Linked DNA regions of Homo sapiens: region 2 is linked to region 1. Evidence: promoter capture Hi-C in 16 types of primary human blood cells and fetal thymus (Javierre and others, 2016). All regions are on one chromosome and are shown on one strand. The core of a region is centred on a gene start or on the middle of the fragment in contact, and the rest is flanking DNA. Distances in the headings are between cores, read along the strand shown.

Region 1 (5,035 bases), core at 1,337-3,836:
GCTCCAGCCAATCAGTTCTTCATAGAAGCTACTTACTTACCCTTTTCCAAGGGTAAAGAATTACTGTTGAGAGGGGCCTCCTATTGCTGTATTAGAAGTCCCCAGATGCATGATTATCAGTGTTGGCAGGGGCGGTCCTTTCCCTCCAACAGGACGTCCACCTGCTAACAGCACACAGGCCTCCGTAAACTACAGGGACCTAAATTGGGGCAGGTCACATATGTTTGAACTTGTGTCTGTTCTGAGAAAAGGACAAGAGAAAAGGTGCTGCCAAGTTCACCAACACAGTAGCAGAGCTGGCAACTGACCCGAGTAAGGGTGGGGAAGCAGTGTGTCAGGGTGACAAGTTTGCAGGTTAGAACTTCAGAGCTGGTGAAGAACTGGTACGCAGAATGGCAGAAAAATCAAAATACTTGAGCAAATCACACCTCTGGGCTTCAAATTTTCTCTTATGTTTCAAATGGGAGTTGGGCGCTGATGTACGTCCCTTCCAAGTTTTAAGCATCCCAATATTCCCTTCCAAGCAAACTTTTTAAATTCAGGGAAATGGTGGGCTCCCCCATCTGACAAACAGGGAAACTGAGGCTCAGAGGTTGAAGCAGCTTGCCTAAGAGATGCTCTCTAGCACTAAATATTTACCTTCCAGATTACATTCATGAGACATTCAGCATGGTGCTGAGTGTAGAGGAGGCATCCAGGAAGCGCTGAATGAACGAATGAATGAATGAATGAAAGTAAGTGCTCCCAGAAACTACCGAGAATCTCAACTCTCATTTTCTTTCCGCTTATATTCTTTTTTTGACCCACATCTTGCTACATACACTTCTGGGACACCTCCACCCCCACCACACAAGATGAAGAGTCCAAGAAATTCACCTTGGTTGCTTTACAGGGACCTGACCCCCAAGGTCACAGACAAGGTTTAAAGTCCGCATTCCCCAAGACACTCTGCCCACAGACCGTGTCAACAACATCGTGGTCCGGGGACTCTAGGACATACATGGAGAGGGTGAATGTATGTGTGTGTGTGCAGCATGTGAGCAAAGAAATGCCAAACAACCAGGAGAAAGTCTGGAGAGGTAAGAGCCACACCGAGCTATCTCAGGCTCCATCTGCCTCTGCACATTATCTCAACCTACAGCGGCCTGGTACCCACCAAGGTCAGGTCCCGCTGGTGCAGGGCTGAGGAGCCTCGCCGCCCCCTTCCCCGATCAGGGAAGAAAGAGAGGAGAAAGAGGCGAGGGGCAAGGCTTTCCGGGAGGCCTCTCACCTCCATCTCCATCCTAACAGCTTCCAAGTTGCTGCCAGATTCCTGGATAACCAGTCTCCCTCATCTGCCCTCCCCCGCTTCTTCACTTCCTCCCCACCCTCGGGTTCCAGGGCCCCCTGGCTGCCCCTGTGCTGTTCTCAGCAGCTTCCAAGGCACCTGTCAAAAAGCACACCTCAGGTTGCCTTCCTCTGCGCCGAGTGCCCTCTCTCCAGTGGTCTCCCACGGAATCCTGGGGTCTTGACCACCCCCTCTAACCGGACACTTCCCCATCCCCATCCGCCCACCCCCCACGCTGGGTGGAAGCCTCCCCGGGAAGACCCGGCTTCACCCGGCTAGGTCGCTCCCCCAACCCCCGCCCCCGCCCGACCTCTCTTCCTAAAGGGGGCGGGCGGGGCTAGAGCTTAAGGTCAAAACTCCGGGCAGGTGCCGGCTGGGGCCTAAGTCCTCCAACTGGGGATGGCGGTGGGGCAGCCTGGGCCAGCTCCCCGGCAGGCGCCTCCTCTCGGTGGCCCACTGAGGCGGGAGCAGCGCTCCAGAAGGTTGGGGGGAGCAGGGGGTGGCGAACTGAAGAGAGCTCAAGAGGCACGCAGAGCTCCCCTGCCCCCTCCCAGTCCCGGCCGGCGGCTCCAGGGGCAGGTGGGGGCCCAGGCGGGGGTGTGGGGGCACGGAGGAGGGTTCCAGGGTCCTACCTGTCCCGCGGGTCGATCCAGCTGGTGGTGCGGTTCGTGTGGTCTATGTAGTAGACCTTGCCGTCGAAGTCGCGCGCCTCCTCCCAGCCCTCCGGCAGGGGCAGCTCCGGCCGGGGCATCTTCCCAAGCGCTGCCGGCGCTCCCCCATGCAGCTCCCGGCCGCAGCGGGGGCTCAGCGGCTCCAGCCGGCCGCTCTTAGCCCGGGCGGCCGCCGAGGCACCATGATCCGGGGGGTGGCGCCCGCAGATGGGGGGCCCTAGTAGGGGCCGGCCGGGGTGGCGCCGCTGTCCATGCGGCCCTGCAGCCCCGACCCGGCGCCGCCCGCTCCTCCCGCCGCCGGCCTCTCACGCTGCCATGTGCGTCCGCAGCGGCGCGGTGCGAGCCCGGGTGCGCGCCCAGCCGGCCGGGCAGAGCGAGCCGAGCGCCGCCGCCGCCGCCGTCTGCCCTCCTCCGCCGCGCGGCGCGCTGCGCCCTCCACGCCGCCGCTGCCGCTGCCGCCTCCCTCCTCCCTGCAGCCGGGTGCCGTCCCTCCTCTCCGCTCCACCGCTCTGAGCTCGCCGGGTTTGTGACTTCTGCCTCCGCCAGGTGCGGCTCGGGCGGTGCAGGTAACCGCGCTGCCCCGGAAACGGGAGGCGGAGCGCCGGGCGCCTGGGTTCCCGGGTCCCCTCCCCGCGCGCAGCGCCTCGAGGGCGGGTCCTAGGGCCCGAGACGCGCCCCCTCGTGGGACAGTCCCAGCCGCCGGCCACCCTTACGCTGCCCCTGCCAGGGGAAGGAGAGACCGCCCCTCACCTGCGTCCCAGACCTAGGGGGCTGGGCCAAAAACCGCTCTGCCTGTACTTAAAACGCTCCTGTCTCTCTCCACCCGGAGTAGCCAGGCTCTCGGCACAGGTGGCCCCAAATCTTAAAAACTCCCTGCTTTTCTGTGGTGTAGAATCAGGAGTCAGGCAAGAAGTGGTTAAATGGAAACATTCTTGCGAATTGGGAAACATAAGTTTTCCAGGATCTCTGGTCCCTTCCCCCAACACAGGCACCATCTGTCTCCTTCTATTCAACTCTCCCTACGACGTTTCGCCCACCCTCCACCCTTCCCCACCATTTGGAAATGTAGCTGGCTCCCCTCAGGGTCCCTAAAATTAGGAGCGCTGTGGATCCGCTTTCCTGGGAGGACTTCCAGAGGGTGTCAGGGAAAACACTTTGTAAAAGTAATAGTAATGCCATTGTTATTGTTAGCTAAATTGAGGACTTACTTGTGACAGGCTGTGGCTAGCAGCTTCACAGGCTTTCTTTCCTGTGATACTTTGAGGTAGGTGTGTTATGGATTTGGGAGAAGTGGGGCTATGAAAAAGAAGAAAGTAAGCAAAGCAAAATTCCATCTTGAAAAATGTTCAAGAGAATAAAACAATCAGAGACACAATGTTTCTTGAGAAATTAAAAATGTAGAATTAGTGGGTGCGGTGGCTCACGCCTGTAATCCCAGCACTTTGGGAGGGTGAGGCAGACAGATTACCTGAGGTCAGGATTTCAGACCAGCCTGGCCAACATAGTGAACCCCATCTCTACTAAAAAATAATAATAATAAATTAGCTGGGCGTGGTGGTGCACGCCCGTAGTCCCAGCTACTCGGGAGGCTGAGGCATGAGAATCACTTCAACCTGGGAGGTGGAGGTTGCAGTGAGCCAAGATCGCACCACTGCACTCCAGCCTGGGCAACAAAGCGAGACTCTGTCTCAAATAAATAAATAAATAAATTTAAAATGTAGCATTAAATACAAAAAGCAAGCTAGCATGATTGAGTGAATGATCAACTGGCTGTTCACTTCCCCATCTCCTCTTACATCTGTGTACTGAGTGGGAATTTAACCCTTTTTTGCCCTCGGCATATGGCAGGAAGCTGGACTGGTCGAATGAAGCCCAGTTGGGTGTCTTCTCTTGCCTGAGCCCCACGGTCTTCCAGAAGAACCAGCACCCTGTGCTGTATGGACCAGGGTGTTGCTGAGCCAGAGAGGGAATCATGTTTGTGGTCTCATCTCCTCTTGACAGAAAAGACCCACCAGAGTGAGCCTCGCCTCCAAATGCCTTCTTCATAGTTAATTCCTTCCCTGAGGCCAGGCCTCGGGGCTCAGTGCTTGGCCCTCCTTCATTCCATAAATACCAGGCACCAGAGTCCAGGGACACCAGCCTCAGACTGGCCCTCAACACCCAAAAGTTGGAATTCCCCATTCCTTTATGGGGGAATTCCCACAGCCCTCTACACTTCCTCTGTTTGGGTCAAGCCTTTACTACATAAAAACCCACTATTGATTAGAGCAGTAGCCCCAAAGCAAAGCCAACCTGGTGCTAGGTTCTTTGAATACATGATCTCAATCTTCATAACAACCCTCTGGCATAGGAAAGTCTATTTATTATACCCATTTTACAGATGAGGCTCCAAGATGCTTTGTTGTTGGCCTGGGATACAGAGCTCATAAGACAGACTAGGTCTGACTCTAGTGCAGTGTTCTCAGTTATTAACCTATACTTTCTTTTTTTCTTTTTTTGAGATGGAGTCTCCCCCCATCCCCCAGGCTGGAGTGCAGTGGCATGATCTCGGCTCACTACAACCTCTGCCTCCCAGATTCAAGCAATTCTCCTGCCTCAGCTTCCAGAGTAGCTGGGATTACAGGCCTGCGCCACCACGCCCAGCTAATTTTTGTATTTTTCAGTAGAGCTGGAGTTTCACCATATTGGCCAGGCTGGTCTCGAACTCCTGACCTCAGGTGATCCGCCCACCTCAGCCTCCCAAAGTGCTGGGCTTACAGACATGAGCCACCTTGCCTGGCTGACTTTCTTTCTTTCTTTCTTTTTATTTTTGAGACGGAGTCTCGCTCTGTCACCCAGATTGGAGACTTTCTTTCTTTTTTAAATCACTCTGCAGCCTCAGAACTTCCCCATGGTTGGGATGTGGAACATGACTGATACTGACAAATGTTCATCTCTGTTGATGTTTGCTTCATAGTTTTTTGGTTGAGAAGCAAGAGCTCTAGAATCAGGCTGTTTGGGTCCCAAGCCCACCCGGTTTTCTAGCTGTGTGACCTTG
Region 2 (5,035 bases), core at 807-3,306, 4.7 Mb after region 1:
GATGGTCAGGTCAGGTCTGAGGATCTGTTAGCACTTCTGAAAGGTCTCATCTCAGTTTATCATTTCCCTCCTTACCCATTTCAAGGACATTACCTAGAAAGATTTTTATACTTACAAAGACCTCTTCCAGAAAGACTCCACACATAAAATCCCTCAGAATTGATCCAATCTTTTTTTTTTAACCCACAAAAAAATTTACACATGCCACACTAAGGAAATAAATTCTACAGTGGTCAGACTTACCAAGTTTTGAACTTGCACTTCCTAAGTCCTTTTCCATAAAGATAGGGCTGAAAGGATATTTTCCTCTAATATGGGTATATTCATAACGCCTGATAGTTCACTTTATTCTGACTTTACTCTGGCTGAGGAACTGGTTATATAAGAATCAAAATAACTTCTTCTGATTACTAAATAAATGTGTAATGAAAATATGCAAAAGCCATCTGGGTCTACACAAGCCAATCCTAGGTATCATTATTGTTCCCTTTAAGCTTGCATAGGTTTGAATTACAGAAAAATAATGAGAAAATTCTTTGAGATGTTTAGCTATGCTGCTTAGAAACATATAAAGGATCATGGAGATTTCATCTTTGGTACTAATAGAAAAGAACTTCCATTGGAAAGCGAAATGCTTTTATGTTTTAATGCTCTCTAAAATGACCAGAAAGTCACTCCAAAATGTACTTCTGAAAAGGTGTCAGATTTTTATTGACCTCGTGGGAGACAGATTTCTGGTTAATTAGAAGCTCATCTGTGAACAGACATCTGAAAGTCCAGTGAGAAACCATAACAACTTTTTGGAGGGGTTTCTCTTCATCTGTTGTCTGACAGAGCAGTCAGATAGCAGTGGGATCCATCCGTTTTTCTTAAGAGATAAAATTCCAGCTTTTGCCACACACATTCAGTGAGCCCGAGCCTCCGGAAGGGCGGGCTTTTGCTGGCCTCCTTTATTGATTAGCTTGAAACCAGAAATGCGTAATAAATATCATTGTGCTCAATTTGAAAAAAGAAACTAAATACTCAACACTGCCCGTCCCGATATAAACCCTTCATCGATTAAAAAAAAAAAAAAAGGAAAGGAAAGGATAAGATTACAACAAAAGAAAAACCACAAAAACGATCAGCACCAAGGCAAAGGCAGTGCCATTGTAAACAAAATGACTCCTTTAGAAAGGAAGCCTGATGTTCTCCACCTAACTTAGAAATTATCAGGCATCAAATTATAATCAGATAGTCTTTTCATGTGGTAGATAAAAGAGGAAACCAGAAAGACCATCAGTGACTGATGGAGATGCGTGCAGGTATTGAAGGTGAAGAGGGGCCCTCAAGCTCCTCCCCTTGGTCTACCATGCGTGACCTCAGCCTGTGACCCAGATTTTGCTGACAGTTATAACGTTTGTAATATAACGAATATCCTTCCAGTTAATAGTAATAGGTCTAGACCTATTTAACTGATTCTTATCTCCACTTGCTATTGTATTATATATTTATTTTTATTTGTATATTGCCCATGGGCTCCATCAGAATAAAACCCATGGAAGACAAGGTTTGTGTCTCAATCACCTCCAGTTCTTCAATATTTGCCAAAGACAAGAATTAATGAATAGAATACAAGGGGTTGGGGATTGCTGCATTTGCTTTCAGCGAGCCCCTAAATATGAAATGAGAACTTAATTGGTCTGGAGGGAGGAAAATGTAACAACTACTATAATCAGAACATTATCCCTTAATTGTCAGGCAAGAGCTAGGAAATGCCATCTGGTATAAGATAAAGAAATCTTGTTGGAAACCATCAAAGGATACTACTACATTCTATCATCAATGACCACAGATATAAACCGCAACATCGATACAATAAGAAGCTATTCAGTCATTTTAAAAAATCAGATCACAGAATATAGTTTAAGGTAGAAAAATAGTGACTGTATATTAGGTGAACATGGCAGGTAGAAAATGCGGAGTTTGGTTCTGTTTATTTAATAATCTGAAATCCCACACTGATATACACTCAGTAACTATCATCGGATTAATTTGGTGTGATTACATATCTTTGCACTCAGCGGTGATTTTAGAGGTGTCTGCATTAGATATGTATTAATTTCATAACTAGAAAGGAGCTCAATGAAGTTCTAGAAAAAAGACTGCCCCACCCCAAAGCTCACAATTGGGCCACAGGACTACATTTACTGCCCATATTTATGTCACCTACCCTTTAGAGAGAGTAAGAGTAAATTTAAGACTAATTATTTTTAGAAAACAGATTCTTTAAAAAAACAAGTCTGGCCGGGCACAGTGGCTCACGCCTGTAATCCCAACACTTTGGGAGGCTGAGGCAGGCAGATCACGAGGTCAAGAGATCAAGACCATCCTGGCCAACAAGGTGAAACTCTGCCTCTACTAAAAATACAAAAATTAACTGGGTGTGGTGGCGCACACCTGTAGTCCCAGCTACTTGGGAGGCTGAGGCAGGAGAATTGCTTGAACCTGGGAGGCGGAGATTGCAGTGAGCCAAGACCACACCACCACACTCCAGCCTGGCGACAGAGCGAGACTCCATCAAAAGAAAAAAAACCAACAAACAAAAAACCAACAAGCAAACAAAAAAACATCTGGGCACAGTGGCTCACACTTATAATCCCACCACTTTGGGAGGCCGAGGCAGGCGGGTCACTTGAGGTCAGGAGTTCAAGACCAGCCTGACCAACATGGTGAAACCCCATCTCTACTAAAACTAAAAAAATTAGCTGGGTGTGATAGCGCATTCCTGTAATCCCAGCTACTCCAGAGGCTGAGGCAAGAGAATTACTTGAACCCAGGAAGCAGAGGTTGCAGTGAGCGGAGATCACACCACTGCACTCCAGCCTGGGCAACAGAGCAAGACTCCATCTAAAAACAACAATAACAAGAAAAAGAAAGATCAATTCAGGCCGGGTGCAGTGGCTCATGCCTGTAATCCCAGCACTTTGGGAGGCCGAGGTGGGTGGATCACCTGAGGTCAGGAGTTCAAGACCAACCTGGTCAACATGGTGAAACCCTGGGTCTACTAAAAATACAAAAATTAGCCAGGTATGGTGGCGGGCGACTGTAATCCCAGTTACTAGGGAGGCTGAAGCAGGAGAATCACCTGAACCCGGGAGGTGAAAGTAGAGGTTGCAGCGAGCGGAGATAGCGCCACTGCACTCCAGCCTGGGCGACAGAGCGAGACTCTGTGTCACACACACAGAACAAAAAGCAAGTTTACCTCTTAACCTAGACTGTCAAGCTCCCTAGGAACCAACCAAAAGCAGCCTGGCTGTTCATCCTCAGACCCTGATCATTTTCTCTCCCTTTGGATTCCTCTCCTCTTTTGCACGTAGCAGAGTCTTTCTTCCCTGGCTCCCATCTGTCCAGCATGGAGCTCTGTGCTCCTCTCAGGTGCAAAAGGAAGGCTCCTATCACAGGCAGGATAAAGTCCCTGTTAGGACCTTGGAGCTACCCAGAAACTGAGGCTCAAACTGAAAATTAAACATCTCTGGACAGCTGCCACTTATTAATGCATGATACACAGGGTTACCTCAAGGACAGTGTGATCATCTCAAACTTTGATGTGCTGGGTGGGGTTGGGGAGAAGCTTCTGGAGCATGTCCTCTCAAACTAAACAAACATAAGATTTATCTGCAGAGCTGGCTGAATGAGAAGTTTCCAAGACCTTGCTCCCAAGTTTCTATTTCAGTAGACCATTTTTAATATGCTCATTGAATAGGTTTCTAAGGCAATTCTGCTGCAGATGGTTCACAGATCACACCCTGAGAATACAATTTTCAAACTTTATCTAATTACACAGTGCAGACACTGAGGTCTAAGCTTCACCCCATCTCTGGTTGAACTGAAGTCAGGAGGTTTGCCTCTAGCTGGCTGTAAAAAAAAAAAAAAAAAGAAGTGATAAAGTAGATTTTCTGAGCATTTGGAATTTAAATCCCGATTTCTGCTTTTAGGAATGTGACTGCGTTCTCACCTGGGAACTTTAGGCAATGCTGTTTTGCATTTATAGTTTATTTTGCTCAGTAATTATTCACAAAGTGTTTTATAGGGTCTATTTGGTCTCAGCAGCTTGATCATAAACTCCTGGGATAGTTGGAAGGCTTTAAATATTTTTTCAAACACATGGAAAGAAAGAAATTGTGCTTAGCACAGTGTTTTTTTATACAAATGCATCCAAGGTCACAGGTGCATATTTTCTACTGCCTCACTCAGCTCTAAACCTAGAATATGACTCTTCCTACATTGGTCACCAGGAGTAGGAATTTCAGCTGGAGGATATGAACTTTTCAAGTAAGGAAGCTTATATTTTATTACCAGGGGAAGAGTTGTTTATTATCCGGGGAAGCAGTAGTTTTCAACATGTGGTCCACAACCAGCATAATTAAGAAAGTCACCTTGTCAAAAATGCAAATTCTCAGGCCTCCCTTGGACCTATTGCATGAGGAACTCTGAGGAAGAGGCCAGCCAGATGGGTTTTAACAAGTTCCAGGTGATTCCAGTGCACGCTAAAGTTTAAGCGATTCTTCTGTCTCAGCTTCCTGAGTAGCTGGGATTACAGGCACACACCACCATGCCCCGCTAATTTTTGTATTTTTAATAGAGACAGGGTTTCACCATGTTGGCCAGGCTGGTCTCGAACTCTGGACCTCAAATGATCCGCCTGCCTCAGCCTCCCAAAGTGCTGGAATTACAGGCGTGAGCCACCACAACTGGCCGTATGTTGCCTTTTACAAGGTGTTTTGTCTCATTTGATGTCATGGCATCCCCTAACTTCCGTGAAATGAAAATTAAGTATTGTTATCTTTCTATTTCACAGCTAAAGTTACTAAATTCTGAGATGACCTAGGGCAAATCATGTGAGTACCAAAAGCTGCCTCAATTCTGTATCCCTTCCCTCTAACAAACAGCAATTCCTTCTTTCATTAAAATAATTTTCCCTGTTCCCCCACCTTGCTTTGCAAAGATTGGAGTCAATGTTACCTTACAGAGGCCCTTGCTAGTTTGCTTGTTG

The links. Contacts are between HindIII fragments. The CHiCAGO score rates a contact against its expected background, and 5 or more counts as called.
Region 2: a fragment that was not itself captured here is called in contact with the fragment with the promoter of WWC1 in region 1 in 1 of 17 cell types (activated CD4 T cells); the score reaches 6.3 in activated CD4 T cells.

The regions. Positions count from the first base shown.
Region 1 is chr5:168,289,196-168,294,230 of GRCh38, reverse strand. WWC1 (WW and C2 domain containing 1) reads right to left here and starts at 2,586. Exons shown (of 23, transcript NM_015238.3): 1 at 1,960-2,586. The coding sequence starts at 2,078. RefSeq lists silencers at 1,774-2,193, 2,294-2,813 and an enhancer at 3,958-4,037. The HindIII fragment of the contact is 16,463 bases long and covers 1-5,035 here.
Region 2 is chr5:163,545,134-163,550,168 of GRCh38, reverse strand. No RefSeq gene overlaps it. Among named protein-coding and RNA genes, the nearest start is that of MAT2B, 42 kb to the right of the region's middle. The HindIII fragment of the contact is 3,119 bases long and covers 497-3,615 here.